6 separate regions of the Homo sapiens genome follow, and all the other regions are linked to region 4. The links are contacts of gene promoters, found by promoter capture Hi-C in blood cells and fetal thymus (Javierre and others, 2016). All regions are on one chromosome and are shown on one strand. Each heading gives the region's core, a stretch centred on a gene start or on the middle of the fragment in contact. The rest is flanking DNA. Distances are from core to core; before and after follow the strand shown. Region 1 overlaps DIRC3 (disrupted in renal carcinoma 3). Region 2 overlaps DIRC3 (disrupted in renal carcinoma 3). Region 3 overlaps DIRC3 (disrupted in renal carcinoma 3). Region 4 holds the start of IGFBP2 (insulin like growth factor binding protein 2). Region 5 overlaps DIRC3 (disrupted in renal carcinoma 3). Region 6 overlaps DIRC3 (disrupted in renal carcinoma 3).

Region 1 (2,700 bases), core at 102-2,601, 1.0 Mb after region 4:
CAGAAAAAAAAAAAAATGCTTTCTGCAAATCCAGCATCCTCTCAACACAGTCCCCTAAAACTCATAAATGCCACTTTGAGGGAATACTATTGTTCAGGGCCTCACATAGTTTAGCCAGGAGAGAGCAAGGTGGTCTCTATTTGCAGTGGCTTCTATCTCTATGTTTTGGGGATTGCTGGCAAACAACACAACACAGACCAACAGGGCATTTCATCCACAAAAACCTATGCATGCTATTTATCAAATGGTCCCTCTGCATGTATGCATGTGCGTGTGTATACATATATCCATATATGTACGTGTGTGTATATAGTCATATGCCACACAATGATGTCTTGCTCAATGATGGACCACATATACAACAGTGGTTCCCATAAGATGATAATACCATATTTTTACTGTACCTTTTCTTATTTAGATATATTTAGATATACAAATACTACTGTGTTGCAAGTGCCTACAGTATCTAGTACAGTAACATGCTGTACAGGTTTGTAGCCTAGGAGTAACAGACTATATCATACAGTAGCATAGGTGTTTAGTAGGCTCTACGGTTGAGGTTTATGTAAATACACTCTACGATGTTCACACAATGACAGAAGTCACCTAATGACATATCCCGGGAACAAATCTTTGTTGGTAAGTAATGCATGACTCGTGTGTGTGTGTGTGTGTGTGTGTGTGTGTGTGTGGTGTGTGTGGTGTGTGTGTTGTGTGCATGCGTGTTTTAAATTCAGGAAATGTGAGCTCTGCAAACCTGGTGGACAAATTCCTATAAAGGAGGCCCACCAGGCATTTTGTGCCACTTTGCCCCCTGTGCCCTGTATCCAAGAAAAGTCCATAAGAACAAGTCTCCCCTCACCACTGCAACTCCTACTCCTTGGCAAATGCTTGATTGTCAGAGTTTTCCAAACCCACATCAGCTCTTGAAAGAAGGAAGCTTAAGGCAGGTGGGGGAAATCTGGGGGATACTGGAAGCCCTCCAGACTAGGCACAGATTCTGCTGCCTCACTTTTTAATGGTGAGCAGGGACAGGTGACCCCAACCTTCAGCTCTCCTCTCTAAAGCCCTGAAAATTCCTCTTGGCCTTCCTGAACTCTCCAGGGCTCTACTCTGGCCATGAACCAACAGACTGTCTCTCCACTAAGCCCTCACCAGCAACCCCTGGGCTTCATTTGTTCCAGCCAGAGCTGGAGGAAGGACAAGGTCCTTTTCTGCTCTGCATGATATGAGGTCTGCATTACCAGCCCAACCTACACCAGGAAATTAATAAAAGGACTCAGATGTGGGATTGTGATCCAGACTCCAGGGATAAAGATGCCCCTTCTTCCAGGGAACAATGGTGATTGGAGGAAAGAAAATCCAGAAGTGTACAAGTTGCTCTTCATACTTCCTGGCAGCCTTCTAGAACATATTGTGAATTACTCTTAGGTAATGTCATGAAGGACACAGAGCTTGCACCCTTGAGCCAAAGGGTAATGTACTGCACACACCTCAAGTGCAATTCATCACCCCTTGGGCTGAAGAGGCCACATGGTGATGGTTTTAATTAATGTCCCCTGAAGGCCTGGAGACCTCTGGCTGATTCCAATAGTGATGCCCCGCCCTGGAGCCTCTCAGGACACCACATCCATACAGGCTTATTCCTAGGAGGAAAAGTTGCAAACGGAGTTTCTTAGGTCTGGAGACATCTCAGTCACTATATAAATCCTCTCCTAGGGCCACTGACCAGGACCATGCCTTATGCCTTAAAAGATCCCAGGAAGCTTATTTATAATCATTCCAAATGCCTGAGAGATTGATAACTCAGGCCCATTAACCTTGGAAAACCCTCCAAAATGTCTAAACTAAATCCCTACAACTACTACCAAAATCTACTTTCTCATATCCTTCAAACACTTCCTTGGCTCCTGACCCTTTGGCCGGAGGATTAATTCCAAGCTGCCCCTAACACTTCATAGAAAGTCCGTCATGATCTGTACCCAATCTACAATCTTAAACTCAATTCTTATTACACCTACTTGTGTCCTCGGTGCCACAGCCACACTAAGCTGATCATTAGTCTCCAACCACACGCTGCACGTGACCCACACTGATCTTCCCCTCACCTTCTACATGGCTACCACACCCAACTCCACTCTACTGCCTTCTAAGGAACTAGCTCAATTGCCACTTGGGTCCATGAAGCATTCCACTCTAAGTCAGAATTAACAGCTACTACTTTTGTCTTGCCATGGAAGGAAATATGAACTTAGAGAGCAAGTCAGGACAAAACCTCATTCATTAGTTTATTCATAAACATCTACTGAGCTGCTAGAGTATTCCAAGCCCCCAGCACTTTGCTAAGAACTGTCACTCTAAAAAACTGAATAAGACACGGTTGGACCTTCCAGCTGCCCGTAGTCTAACAGGACAGTCAGATAAAATAACACAAGCCACAGTAAAACATGATGCTTGCTCTAGTGGACATGTAAATATCATGCTGGGGCAGAGGGAGCACCAGGACAAAGGATATATGTGCCCAACAAGTAAGCTAATTCAGACCCAAGCTAATTCTTGCTGCTGAAGAAACATCAGCAACCACAGGAAAGGGCCTTGGGAACTATGTGACTGATATATGGAAAAAATCAGCCTCGTTGGAGATAAACTCAGCAGTTATGTGGACTCTGCTGCCTCAGAAATCTCTTGGGGGTACTCCTA
Region 2 (2,700 bases), core at 138-2,637, 1.1 Mb after region 4:
CCACATGCATTATCTAATACTAACAAACCTGCATGGTATATGTTGTCATTCTCTTATTTTCACCCTGACTTTACAAATGCAGAAACTGAGGCTTAGATTGACTTATGCACCTTTTTCCTCAGAAAGACTTCCAGGAGCCCCAGCTGAAAATTGAGGAGCTAGTTTGAGCCTCTTGCTTTATGAAGTTTGTTCATTCATCTCTTTATCTCTTCCATCAGTGGCTACATTTCTCTGCCAAATGGTGGACACAAACCCGCAGACCCTAAATTGTGAGGTCATTTATTCATTCAACAAATATCTATTTTTGAATTCCCATGTGATAAGAATATGATGATGAAACAAACATAGGTTCTGCCCTCAGAATACTTTCAACCTGGTAGGGTAGATAAGAAATGCATGGAAATAAGATAGAAAACAGATCACAGGTGCTGAACTTAATGGGCTGCAGGATGCCAGCCTGATTTCCAGGCTGACATTGGCCCTTTGGTGTCCCTGTCTGGAGCTCCTAAAGCTAGATCCCTGGGCTCCAGGCCCTTAGTATGACCCACACCTTAGAGTTGCACCTTCATGCAACCCAACCTCATCCTCCAGGGCCCATGTCATCCACTTCATGGACAAGACAACACCAAAAATTTATTTGGTGTAGCTCAGTGGAACTAAAAATGTAGAGAAAAAAGAGCCAAAGGGAGAGGCAAGGAAAAGTACAGGCGCCGGAAGAACAATTGCTTGGAACTCAAAAACAATCACCAGAAAGAGAAACACAGGAAAGAACTTGACCTGGATGACCACAAATTCAGCAATAAGGAATTGAAAGATAAATATGGTGCAAACATACAGGTCTCTCCAGCATGAGAGCTTCAGAGCTCCTGGCTTGGGATCACCCTAATTTAGGCCTCTCAAAGAAACATCAAAGATTGTCAAGTTTCGGTGCCAGCATTCTTCATCCCTCTGTGGCATTCCTGTGCTGGGTTGCATTTAGCATTCAGTACTCCTGTGATAAGTCTGTGTCCCTAGACAATGTGTATGTGAGTTCTGTGCTTACTCTGGTTGCGGGGATCTTTGCTTATTACCAAGAGGTGAAAAACACCAATATCATGGCCACCTTCAGTAAAATTATTCTTCAGCAAGCTCTTGTTGTCTGAGATACAGAGAAGAATGCAACTTCTGCATAACAGTTGGTAACCAGGATACAGTGAAGATTAAAGGATAACACTAAATTCCTACAGATATCAGGTTGCTGGCTTTTCAGAGAGGTAGGGTAGATAACTCATCTATCAATGGGATGTCCAAGCCACAGTCCTGCTCATGTGACTTGTCTCATGACAATCCCCTGGAAATAAAAAATACTGTCTTCTCTTCCACAACCTGTTTAGAAGGCACAGCAACTGGCACAGTTGCCAACACAGGCAATGGCACCATCATTGGACAGATGGCCTCACTGACTTCAGAAGCTGGAAATGAGAAGATACTCATTGCCAGTGAGATCAAGCACCTTGCTTGCATTGTGGCAGGAATTCATAGGCATCCTTTTCTTCATCATCAGTGTCCATGAAGTATCATGCATTGAACCCTTCCATCTTCCTCACTGGCGTCACGTGGCCAATGTACCTAAGGGCCTCCTTGTCACTGTCACTTTCACTCTGTTACTGACAGAAAATGGATGGCCAAGTAGAACTGCCTGGTAAGAACCTGGAAGTGCTGGAGACCCCCAGTTCCACCCCATCATTTGCACTGACAAGACTGGCACTCTGACTCACAACAGGATCCATCCATGGTGTAACAGATTAATGTGGCTGACACACGTGAAGAACAGTCAACCCAAGTCTTTGCCCGAGGCTCTGGAATCTGGGACTCCTTATTCATGATAATATTGTGTAACCATGTTGAGTTCAAACCAGGACAGGAAAGTGTTCTCAACATGGAGAAAGTTGTGGTTGAAGATGCCCCAGAAACTGCCCTTGGAAATTCTCAGCAGTCATTTTGGGTGATGTCATGGAAATTAGAAAATGAAACTGCAAAGTAGCCAGGCTGAAATCCCTTTTGACTCTACCAACAAGTTTCAGCTCCTCATACATCAGCTGATGATCCCAATAATAAATGCTTTCTCATGGTGATGAAGGGTCCCTGGAGATCTCAGTGAAGTGCAGCCGAAGGACATAAGTCAGGAATAGCTGAGTGAGCTGTTAAAGATCCTCTCAGAAGCCATCTTTGCTCAGACCTCTGACCAACAGAAACTGGGTGAGCTGTCAGAGACAGGATGCTTTGACAGAGAATGGAGTCAATGCTCTAAATAGGTAGATATCAGGATTGCCATGAGAAAAGCAGGTCCTGACGTAGTAAGAATTCAGGGTACACAGCCTTAATGAACAACAATGTGACAACTTTGCATCTACAGTCACAAGATGAAGGAAGGTTACCTACTCTTTGACAACCTACAGATTACTGCTTACACTTCAAGAACATTGCTGGTTTGTTGTTGTTGTTGTTGTTGTTGTTGTTGTTGTTGTTGTTGTTTGAGATGGAGTCTCGCTCTGTTGCCCAGGCTGGAGTGCAGGGGTGCCATCTTGGCTCACTGCAAGCTCCACCTCCCGGGTTCACGCCATTCTCCTGCCTCAGCCTCCTGCGTAGCTGGGACTACAGGCGACGGCCACCAGGCCTGGCTAATTTTTTGTATTTTTAGTAGAGATGGGGTTTCACCAT
Region 3 (2,700 bases), core at 189-2,688, 1.1 Mb after region 4:
TTTACTCATGAGCATAGTCTTACTTTTAAGGCGGTATGCCTAATTTCTTGTGAGATAATAAAGATGATAATTCAGTCAGGGAGATGGATAGAGCCTAGAGGAGGAATTAAGGGTGTGCACTTAGCCATCACTACTCTACCTCTGTTGAGCTGTGCCATCTTGGACTAGTTACACAGTTTCTCTGGGCCTCAATGTCATCATCTGTAAAATGAGATTATTAAGAGTTGTACCCAGTTGTGGGTACATAGTACCTAGCACATGCTCAGTGCTCAATGAATGGTGGTTGATGATGTCAAAAAGGAATTCTGACTTTCAGGCTCTGTCTATGTTGCTCTGTCCTTCCACTCCTCCCCATCCCACACATCCAAAGTATATCTTGTAATTGTGACCCTGGGTGTGCCTTGAAGGGTTTGGCTCTTTCTTTTTCCTATGCACTCCTCCTGGAAAACAGCAGACCTGCTGAGGCAACCAGCACAGAAACAGAGCTCGTGCCGACTCCCAACTGCCGGGGATACAAAGGGCTGCTAGGGAGATGGAGCAGGAAGCACAGCCCTGGAAGAGTGCACTGTCCCCCCAGCATCCGACAACCGGCCTCTCAGTGTGGAGCTCTGTGGGGCACAGTTGACGACTGTCACTCACATCCACTGACACCACCGTCTATGCCATTTGTCAGCAAGCAGAATGTCCTCATGTGGTTTGACCTGACTCTCTCAAGTCCTGGGGAACAAGGTTGCACCCTCCACATGAAAACAACCAGCTCAATGCACAGAGTCTGGTCAGATTCACAGCTGGAGTTTGCATCTGTCACCCACCACCCTGCAAGGTTCTATTCTTCAATTCGACCAAATAACTTGTAACTGGGGACACAGCCCAAACATGGAACCAGGAAAGGTCAAGGTTCCAAGCTACCTTCGAGATCATCTGATCCAATAACTTCATTGTTCTGGTAGGAAAAGCAAATCCCAGCGAGGGGACTTACCAGAGATCATACAGTTGGCCAGGGAGTGGCTCAAGGATCTAGGAGTAGCAGAGGCATCTTCACCCCCCCTCACCTGGGAGAAAACAGAACCACAAAGAGGGGGAGGTCGGCTGGTGGAGGGGACTGACACCGGTTGCATTTCAGGGGCTTCGCAAGGGGTAGAATGAGCACTGGACTGAGGGTTAGAAGACCAGGGTCCCCCACGTGTCTCTGCCTCGAATCAGCTGGGCCCCCGTGAGCTGTCACTTCCCCTCTCTTTGGGTCTCAATTCTCTCTTATAAAACGGAGCATCCCATCCACCTCTAAGAATGGGTTCAAGGAGCAGATGAAAATGTGTTTTGAAAATCCTGAGGCTCTACATATGTACAACCAAATTCTGCCCATCTACACAGCCACTTTTAGCTGTTGTCCCCAAGGCCTGGAAGCAGGCAGAGGGGAGAGTTAGGTAAGCTCTCTGAGCACATCCAAGGCTGGAGGGCTTCCCTCAGCAAAGGGGGCCCAGAGCACCAGGCTAAATCCATGTCATTCAAGCAGCGCTCAGGTTGTGTCTAAGCAGCTTTGATTTTAAAAGATTAGGAGGGCCGCAGGGTGGAAAGAAAAGTTGATGAGGCAACAAAGTCCTGCCCGCAGTACCACACTGCCCTCTGCAGGGTGTCTGTGAGAAGGCACCTCGGCTGGCCAGGTCAGGTTAATTCCGACTGCCCAGGGTCACAGATCCATTCCCGTGCCTCCACGCAGTGCAAGCCCTCTCCAAGTAGAAACAGGGATTGGGGGGGTGCTGCAACCACCCTCAGTAATCTGCTCTGTCTTCAAACAGCGCAGGCCTTTCTTGGTGTCTGGCCCGAATCTTCCTCTTGTCCTGACACCAACCATCTTCCAACCTGCCCTCCGAGGAGCCTGCCTTAGCGTCTCTTGCTTGTGACTCTAAAGCCAGGATTTAGAAGGTTCTAGAAAACAGAACAGCCCTGGCTCCTGCCCACCTCATTGTACCCTCTTTTCTCCAGAATAAGGTGGTTTCTCCATACCCTGGACATATTTTGGTCCTTGGAGAAAGCCCCCACACTGAAGGAGACGTGTCTTGCCTGAATCAACAGACAAGCCAGCGTCCTGCAGGTCTCAGTGATGAACCAAAAAGTCTGTGACTTTCACGAACATCAGACCCAATCTCCACAAATGATCTGGGATTGCGGGGGACATCCAGGGCCCAGAGCCTGCCCCCACGGCAACAAGGAATGTCCTCCAAGGCCCTCATGGCACCAGACCTTCCCCCTTCTCCATCCTCTCCCTGGCTGTGTGGTTCAGAGTGGGGCACTCTGCAGCTGGCTGACCAGCCTCCAGGCATGGGCTCAGGCCATGCTCCCTGTGTGCCCTGTGCAGACCCGGGGAGACGCTGCAGCCGGCCTGGCCATGTGACACGGGTGATTCACACACGCAGACGCCCAGACCAGTTTCTCCTTTCTTCCTCTCCCAGGCCATTACAAAAGGCACAGTCTCAGCACAGTGCTGCATTGTTCCCAGGGTCAGCAGAGGCTGGAAGCTGAGGGGAATTAGGAAGACAGGGAGTTGAGCAGCGTAGAGTGGTTTTCCATGCAGCATATGCACCTCGTGCAAGCCAAGCCCACTTCCTGTCTTGGCTCCAGCTCTGGAGCTCAAGTTTATATCTCCCTCCTTCAGAACCAACTTCGGTTTGGGTTGTTGGCTTCTTTAATTTTCCACTCTCC
Region 4 (2,700 bases), core at 201-2,700:
TTGCTTCAGGTGGTCCCTCTGCCTGTGCCCTTGCTAACCGCCCATTTCCTCTGGTAGAATTACAAGCTTCAATTTCAGCTCCGACTCACCCAAGAAACTCCCCTTTCCTCAACCACCACATCACCTCTCTACCAAAATATTTCTTTTCTTCAAAGCCTCTGATAAACATTTATTTATTTATTTTTTATCTTACCAAAGTCTTTCCCGATAACTCTTCCCAGCTTGGCGTCTTAAGACCAGGTACTTGCCTTCCTGGAGGCATCTAGGTCACCTTCAGAGCCAGGTGGCCATTGGGTTAACTAGCTGTTGAACTGAATCAAACAGGCTCTGAGCCTTGAAGTCAGAAAGAGCCAGAGTGGAGGGGTCTGGGGGGAAGAGGGGCGCTGAGGTATAGGGAGATGAAACCTGCGGTGGAGGCAGCTTAATGGTCCACCTGTCACCCAAGGAATCTCTCTGACAGGGGTCTTTGTTAGGGTCACACCCCAGGAGATGGTTGATTATGGCTGAGTCCAGCCTGGAATGATGGGGGTTGGGGGCAGCTTGGGTAGATGACTCAGTAAATCAAACAGAACAATGAAAGGAGGTCATGCTTGTCCATCTGCATTATTGAAGACAGCCATAAATGGCCTTACCCCAGAGCGGGTCTGTCACACCTGGAGAGCTGATCTGACCTCTCCAAGACCCCTGCAACTGAGTGTTCTGGGATCTGTCCTGCAACAAGTGCCTCGAGATTTGTAGGTGGGGGCCCAGGGTGCTAAGGGATTATTTTAGCGGGCGGAGAAGGGAGGGGGTCTGCAGACGAAGGGGGCAGGTTTTGCGGGGCACTTAGGGTTCTCATAGGTTGTAGTCACGAGCTCCCAGGTTTGGAAAACTGCAATAGTCACTAAGACCATTCGGGGCTGTTTGGGTCTAGCTTGGTCTAGACGGGTCTGAAACTCCGCAGGACCCACCCAACAAGAAGTCATTGTTCCAAGCCACGTGTCAGTGGTGGGTGATACCCCAGGATGGAAGGAGTTGGTATGAGCCGACTGAAATCTACTTGAAGGTCAAAACGGAGCCTTATGTCTTTTGTGTTCCCCAGCGGTTAGCCCAGTGCCGGCCACAGGGGAAGCGCGCAAACGAAGTCCTCGCGAACTGAACTGAGAGCAGACAAAAGCACGCGCTCTTCTCCACCGCCACGCCGGTCCTACCCAAACCCGCGAGTTATCCGTATTCTCCTTCAGGAGTCATAGTCAGGCCAGAAGAGTGCGGAGGGACGGGGCCCGGGAAGAGCAGGGAACCCCCAGAGCCCGCAGCCAACGCGGAGGTGGGCGAGCGGGCGTGCGCGCACTCACTTGCCGGCGCGAGGGAGTGTCGGGGGGGAAGGGAGTGGTCTCCAAAAGGGGGAGGGGAGAAGGCAGGGGGCGGGGAGAAGCCGGCCCTTTAGGACCCGGCTGCGGCGGCGAGGGAGGAGGAAGAAGCGGAGGAGGCGGCTCCCGCGCTCGCAGGGCCGTGCCACCTGCCCGCCCGCCCGCTCGCTCGCTCGCCCGCCGCGCCGCGCTGCCGACCGCCAGCATGCTGCCGAGAGTGGGCTGCCCCGCGCTGCCGCTGCCGCCGCCGCCGCTGCTGCCGCTGCTGCTGCTGCTACTGGGCGCGAGTGGCGGCGGCGGCGGGGCGCGCGCGGAGGTGCTGTTCCGCTGCCCGCCCTGCACACCCGAGCGCCTGGCCGCCTGCGGGCCCCCGCCGGTTGCGCCGCCCGCCGCGGTGGCCGCAGTGGCCGGAGGCGCCCGCATGCCATGCGCGGAGCTCGTCCGGGAGCCGGGCTGCGGCTGCTGCTCGGTGTGCGCCCGGCTGGAGGGCGAGGCGTGCGGCGTCTACACCCCGCGCTGCGGCCAGGGGCTGCGCTGCTATCCCCACCCGGGCTCCGAGCTGCCCCTGCAGGCGCTGGTCATGGGCGAGGGCACTTGTGAGAAGCGCCGGGACGCCGAGTATGGCGCCAGCCCGGAGCAGGTTGCAGGTAACGCGGTCTGGAACAAGTAGTTGGGAGAAACTTGGAGGGCAGCGGAGAAGCCCGACGGGCGGCTGGACCTTACGGACGGTTTTAGGGGCGGCAGAGCCGAGACCTTGGACCAAATCAAGGGGGACTGTTGCTAGCGGGACGCGGAAGTCAGGCCCGGGGAGGGGAACTGGAGTTAGAGCAAGTGGAAGAGCCCTGGCGACTCATTTGGTGGGGATGAATGGGGAGAGGAAAGGCATCCCTGCTGCCATAGTTTTACCCGCGTGGAACGGACCCAGACTTCTATTCTGGAGGAGGGATTTGCTGAGAAGGGGGCCGGTGGTCAGATCCATGGGAGTAGGAACTCGAATCTTATTTGGGGCACTGCTTGAGGACCCAAGGGTCCTGGTGGGATCGCTGCTGGGAGGCGGAGGCTGCGGGGTGCCAGTGACACCAGGAACCTTGGAAGAGGAGAGGGAGCTAGGAGGAGGCACCGGCGTCCCAAGGGGCCCTTCCTTCTACTGGGGTTGTGAGTTGGAAAGAAAGGACTTGGTACTTTGTAGGATGAGTCGCTTAGGAGAAAAATGAAAACCACCACTACTATTTCTCCATAGGGAACGAGCAGGGCTCTTGCTACCACGTTGAATGGAAAAATAAAAGGGAGGCATTTGGTAGGCGAGGGGTCTCCTAGCAGCTGAATCAATGTAACTTAAGCCCGATCGCCG
Region 5 (2,700 bases), core at 62-2,561, 1.1 Mb after region 4:
CTCCACACAGCCCTTTTCCCCAAATCACTCACATGCCTGCCCCCATCAGCCCTGAACACCCAACCCCAGCCTGCACAGAAGACCTGCAGCCTGGAAGCAGGCAGGCTCGGAGCCCTGCAAGGGTTGGGGGTTGGCTCTGTCCATCTTTGGATCCCCACCCCCAGCCCTGTCCAAGACATTTGTCCTCAAAGGAGCTTTATTTGGTCTTCTCTCCATTTTTGTGCAAGCCTAGTGAGAAGCCATGGCCAGCAAGAGGAAGCAACAGCCACCTGCTTGGAACTCATTTGAGAGGGGCTGAAATAGGCCACCTGTTCCCAGGCTTCCCTCCCACGCAGTAGGTCACAGAGTCTGGCCACTAGGAGAAGGTCCGAGAATGTTAAGGTTTGAAGAGACCTAAGAGCCTAACCTTCCAGCGGAAGCCTCTGTCCCTCCAGGCTGGGGCAAAGAGGGCTGACCCCAGGTGGCAGCACGCGGGTCACATTTGATTCACATGATTTGGCCTCTGGTGAGCCTAAGCGCTGTGGAGCAAGGGGTGGGAGTTCCCACTCAGGAGTAAGACTGCCGGGATCTAAATCCCGGTTCTGCCACTTCCTATCTGAAAAACACATGCCTCAGTTTCCTTCTCTATGAAACACAGCCCCATCGCCAGGCTGAGTGCAGACTCTTTGGGGCAGATCCTTCACCAGCCCATTTTGCAGATGAGGAAACTGAGGTGAATGAGCCGGCACTGTGACCCCACGTGCTTCATTCTAAGCATAGAGATCTTGCCGCTTCAGCAAGCCAACTTCCTTCCCCAGGGAAGGCTGGGAAACAGTAACTGGAGAAGGGGGCAGGAGGGTCTCTGCCTGGGTGCAAGGCTCAAGGCTGGCCAGTCCTGCCATTCTTCTTGCCTCTGGTTTTTCCGAATTCTGCCTCTCCCTCTGGAAAGCCATTGCAGGCAGGGCACTCCCAAGCCTCGTTTACAAAATTATAAGCTTCCTTTGTCCCCAGTCTCCTCTGGTTACAATAACACTCATCAGCTCTCCAGAGCTTTCAGGGGCATGGAAAATGTGACTTCACTCCTCAAGGATTTCTGATTTAACAAAATGGCATTGGGGAAAGAAAATGAAAAAGAATGTCTCTGTCCATCCCTGATAGAAAAGGCAATAGGGCTCCAGCCTCCCAGCCCAGAGTCAAGAGCCAAGAGCTCCCAGAGGGTCCAGAAGGCACAGACAGGGGACCCTCAATCCCCCTTGGACCCCACAGACTGGAAATCAGCCTCTCTGGGTGGGGCCTAAGGGGAAAAGGGAGGGAAAGGGTCACTGAAGACAGGTGCCAAAGGCAGGAAATAAATACATCCTGTCTTGCCATTCCCCAATTTGACAACTTTATTATTCCTGTCCTTCTTTATTCAGTCAGTCCATCAGTCACTTGTCCTAAGTGCTTAAAATGAGTGACTCTGGTGTCCAACCACCTGGGATAGTATTCTGGCTCTGCCATCTTTCCAAGCCTCAGTTTTCTCATCTGCAAAATAGAGACAATGTAGTCTGGACTTTATAGAGCTGCTGTGAAAACTAATGAGATACCATGCTAAGGGCTTCACACCATGCCAGCAGATCAGAAGCTCTCAAGACATGGTAGCTCTTGGTGCTGTCACTCATGGGAATTGCAAAGCTTTGTCAAGCAGAGCAATGTGTCTGAGGCTGGACTGTTGGGAGTACCCATCTCATGGCACCTGCAGTCTAGAGACCCAGCCCTGGAGGCTCCTAGCTGGCCCATTACTTTAAGTCCTGAACACCAGGGCTAGTCTAATAGGTAGACTGGCAGGGTAAGGAGAAGGGCTTAGTGAGTGCTTGCTGCATACAAGACGCTGTGCAGGTGCTAAGGAAAATTCAGAAATAGCAACTATAAATCAAACTCCACGATTTCAGGTATATGAGAAATATAATTTTCAAAAAAATTATTTAAGTCAAGTTAAATCCATCTCTGAGCCCCCATCCCACCTGAGACAGCAAATTTTGTCCTGGTCATTAATGGAACCCGCCCATCCTCTCTCTCACCAGCATCACTGGAAGGGGTGCATGCGTGGTCACTGGCCATTTGTCCCCACTGGTTACACTGAGATAACTGATGCAAGGCCACACAGTACCCAGGAGCCCAGGGGCTCTGCTGCTTCTGTGCCAAACAGTGCCAGAGAAAGCTAGTCACAGACACATCACACTGTCAGCCCACTCTGAGGTCCTGCCCACCCTGGGCATTGACAGGGAAAAGGGTGCTCTGCCTCCGGGACTCTTCCCTCAAAGGCACTCACATCTCAAAGAACTCAGGCTCCCAGAAAGGAAGAAAAAAGAAAAGAAAGCAATTCCTACTCCCTGGCCTGCAGCAGCAAGTCTCCCAAAGCAGGGATCTCAAAGGAGCAGGCTGTTTACATGGGGGGAGTTGGGGGCAGTAGAGACAAAAATATAAGGATAACAGAAAATGAATCGTCGTATCTCAGAGACGGCCCCTCTAAAGAGGTGACTTCCAGGGGCTCCCAACAAGACACCTGCACCCCCTCCACCTTCTACCCCTACCCCATCACCCGCAGGCAGAGGAAGCAGCAAACCACATAGTGACATTTCAGGACTAACAAAAAGCCCTCCAGGAAGTAAATCAATCTCCCCCAAGCTTCCTGAACACCTACACTCTCCTTCATCTAAGGCAGATGTCCTGAAGAGGTCT
Region 6 (2,700 bases), core at 45-2,544, 1.1 Mb after region 4:
TGCCCCTGAGAATCTTCCATCCCATAGAAGAAAAGAGAAAAAATTGTCTGCTGGATCCCTCGCATCTCCTGTCTTTCATAGGTCAAAGTTTTCTACATGAGGCACTATCTCCCCATGTTGCTGGGCTGTAGCCTTGCTTGGCATCTTGGGGCAGTCCCTACCAAAGGCATCAAAGAAGCAAGGAAAGCAGTGTGGCACTTCAGCAGAGACTAGAATGGGGAGGCATCTGAGGATCAGGTTGGATCAGGTTGGCCACAGCAGAAGCAGTAGAGGTGATGTTGGAGCTCAAAACTCATCCCACAGGAGGGAACCCATGGGCAGCAGCGTGACTGTGGCAGCAGACACAGAGGATCAGTCTCCATGAGCAAGCAGTGAGGTCCTAAGAGAAAAGAAAGGTCCAGCAAATCCGAGGTGATGCAGACATTAAAGCAATGGGGTGGGAGGGGCAGGCCCCAAAAGGACAGCGCTGTTCTTAGCAGGAAGGGGTCATATAGGGACAAAACAATAGGTTCAGGAATAGAAGCCTGCCAGGTTGAACAACAAAAGATTCAACCAAAACAAGGTATTTGTAGAATGTAGACATCAAGGGCAAACAAACAGGTATAGGCAATGCAGACAGAGCCTCAGAGGTGGGCTTGCCAGAGCTGTATCAGTGTTCTCCACTTTTCTCCCTCTCTCAACCCTGACCACAGCTCTCCACTTTCATCTTCCCTTCTTCTGAGCATCTGTTCTGGGCCAGAGCCCATCTCAGGCAAATAATGCATGGTCTGTGCCTGCATTCGTATACCTGATTCCAAGTACGTCTCACCTTCTCCTCAACCAAGCCATCATCTCCCACCAGTCTCCATGATCCTCTCCTAACTCAGTGGTCCCCAACTGTATTAATCCTTTTTCATGCTGCTACAAGGACATACCCAAGACTGGGTAATTTATAAAGAAAAGAGATTTAACTGACTCACAGTTCTGCAGGGCTGAGGAGGCCTCAGGAAACTTAAAATCATGGCAGAAGAGAAAGCAAACACATCTTTCTTCAGAAGGCAGCAGGAGAGAGAAGAATGAGAGCCGAGCAAAGGGGGAAGCCCCTTATAAAACCATCAGATCTCAAGACAACTTACTATCACAAAAATAGCATGGGGGAAACCTCCCCCGTGATTCAATTACCTCCTACTGGGTCCCTCTTGTGACACATGGGGATTATGGGAACTACAATTCAAGATGATATTTGGGTGGGGACACAGCCAAACCATATCACCAATCTTTGTGGCACCAGGGACCAGTTTCATGGTGGACCAGGTGTGGGGGTAGGGGGAGAAACTGTTCCATCTCACATCATCAGGCATTAGGTTCTCATAAGGAGCACAAACCTAGGTCCCTTACATGCACAGTTCACAGTAGGGTTTGTGCTCCTATGAGAATCTAATGACACCACTGATCTGACAGGATGTGGTGCTCAGGTGGTAATGTTTGCTCACCCCCTCCCCCACTCACCTCCTGCTCTGTGGCCTGGTTCCTAATAGGCCATGGACTGATACCTCTATGGCTTGGGAACTGGGGTCCCCTGTCCTAACTGGTCCCCTGCTTTTCCATCTTTGTTTCACTTCAGTGTCTTCTATACACAGCAACCAGGTGATCCTTTTAAAACCCAAATCAGATCATATTTATTCCCTTCCTCAAATCCTCCAAAGACTTCCCATCACACCTCAGACAAAATCCATGCTCATTGTTCCCCCGGCATGATCTGACCTCCAGCCTCCTGCCCGCCATTCTCCCCTTCACTGCTCCCAGTTTCAACTGCACTGGCCATCTTGCTGTTCTAGAGCCCAGGCAGCATGCTCCCACCTCAGGGCCTTTGCTCCTGCTGTTTTCCCTCCTTAAACCACTCTTCCTCCAGAGAGCAGCGTGGCTCGTGCCCTTGTTTCTTTCAGGGCTATGTCCAAAGTCAGCTCCTCAAAAAGGCCTCCCTGATCATCCAAGCTAAAACAGCACTCTGCTTCATGCTGTTCCCCTTACTCTGTTTCTCTAGTCCTTATAATACTACTTACCATTCATGACATCAAATTATGGGTGGGGGGGTGCAGGTTTATTTCTCCCTCTTCTCCCTTCCTTTTAGAATGTAAGCTGCATGCAGAAAGGGGCTTTGTTATATTCCCTACTGTAGCTAGAATAATGCCTGACACCACCGAGCTCTCAATAAATATTGGTGCAATAAATGGATTAATCTGGTGGGAGACAGATTGGCCACTACGGTATGACAAGGGCTGGCATAGATACAAGAACAAGAGTCTTGGGTTACATTCTCCAGCCAGAGGGGTCTGGGAAGTCCCAAAGGGCATGAGCAGCTGGGATTCATCCTGCTTGCAGTTTCCAAACCAGTTCAAAAACAACAGGAGATTCTGATCAGACAGAGTTGGCTGATAGGGAAGAGCCAAACTGCTTCTGGTGCGGGGCAGTTCAAGGTGAGCTCAATGAAGTCACTTAGGGCCTGTGCTTAAAATACTGTTTATTTTCTATTTTTAAAAATGTTTGTCATTGAAATGTCATGGTGGAAGGGGAGTTTGGGAATCATCTAGGCCAGCTATCCTGCTGCACGGGTCAGAAAACTGCATCTCAGAGACAGAAAATGACTTTTTCCAAGTGACAGGGTGAGTTGGTGGTCAAGTCTGCTCCCCTGTCTGGGATGCATAGACACTCTTGGCTTCT

Evidence for each region. The method cuts DNA at HindIII sites, captures the fragments that hold promoters and counts their contacts. A CHiCAGO score of 5 or more calls a contact.
Region 1: a fragment that was not itself captured here is called in contact with the fragment with the promoter of IGFBP2 in region 4 in 1 of 17 cell types (erythroblasts); the score reaches 5.8 in erythroblasts.
Region 2: a contact is called between a fragment that was not itself captured here and the fragment with the promoter of IGFBP2 in region 4, in 2 of 17 cell types (non-activated CD4 T cells and neutrophils). The highest score is 5.9, in non-activated CD4 T cells.
Region 3: a fragment that was not itself captured here is called in contact with the fragment with the promoter of IGFBP2 in region 4 in 5 of 17 cell types (total B cells, erythroblasts, neutrophils and 2 more); the score reaches 7.2 in total B cells.
Region 5: a fragment that was not itself captured here is called in contact with the fragment with the promoter of IGFBP2 in region 4 in 2 of 17 cell types (erythroblasts and total CD4 T cells); the score reaches 6.6 in erythroblasts.
Region 6: a contact is called between a fragment that was not itself captured here and the fragment with the promoter of IGFBP2 in region 4, in 1 of 17 cell types (fetal thymus). The highest score is 6.0, in fetal thymus.

Annotation. Positions count from the first base shown.
Region 1 is chr2:217,632,398-217,635,097 of GRCh38, forward strand. All of the region lies in intron 2 of DIRC3 (disrupted in renal carcinoma 3), which reads right to left. Among named protein-coding and RNA genes, the nearest start is that of DIRC3, 160 kb to the right of the region's middle. The HindIII fragment of the contact is 826 bases long and covers 939-1,764 here.
Region 2 is chr2:217,693,285-217,695,984 of GRCh38, forward strand. All of the region lies in intron 2 of DIRC3 (disrupted in renal carcinoma 3), which reads right to left. It also overlaps the pseudogene LOC100533848. Among named protein-coding and RNA genes, the nearest start is that of DIRC3, 96 kb to the right of the region's middle. The HindIII fragment of the contact is 5,943 bases long and covers 1-2,700 here.
Region 3 is chr2:217,712,050-217,714,749 of GRCh38, forward strand. The region is part of intron 2 of DIRC3 (disrupted in renal carcinoma 3); the gene reads right to left. Among named protein-coding and RNA genes, the nearest start is that of DIRC3, 77 kb to the right of the region's middle. RefSeq lists an enhancer at 1,676-1,725. The HindIII fragment of the contact is 4,216 bases long and covers 1-2,700 here.
Region 4 is chr2:216,631,970-216,634,669 of GRCh38, forward strand. IGFBP2 (insulin like growth factor binding protein 2) reads left to right here and starts at 1,451. Exons shown (of 4, transcript NM_000597.3): 1 at 1,451-1,996. The coding sequence starts at 1,555. The HindIII fragment of the contact is 7,523 bases long and covers 65-2,700 here.
Region 5 is chr2:217,752,958-217,755,657 of GRCh38, forward strand. The region is part of intron 2 of DIRC3 (disrupted in renal carcinoma 3); the gene reads right to left. Among named protein-coding and RNA genes, the nearest start is that of DIRC3, 36 kb to the right of the region's middle. The HindIII fragment of the contact is 679 bases long and covers 973-1,651 here.
Region 6 is chr2:217,733,747-217,736,446 of GRCh38, forward strand. The region is part of intron 2 of DIRC3 (disrupted in renal carcinoma 3); the gene reads right to left. Among named protein-coding and RNA genes, the nearest start is that of DIRC3, 55 kb to the right of the region's middle. The HindIII fragment of the contact is 4,058 bases long and covers 1-2,700 here.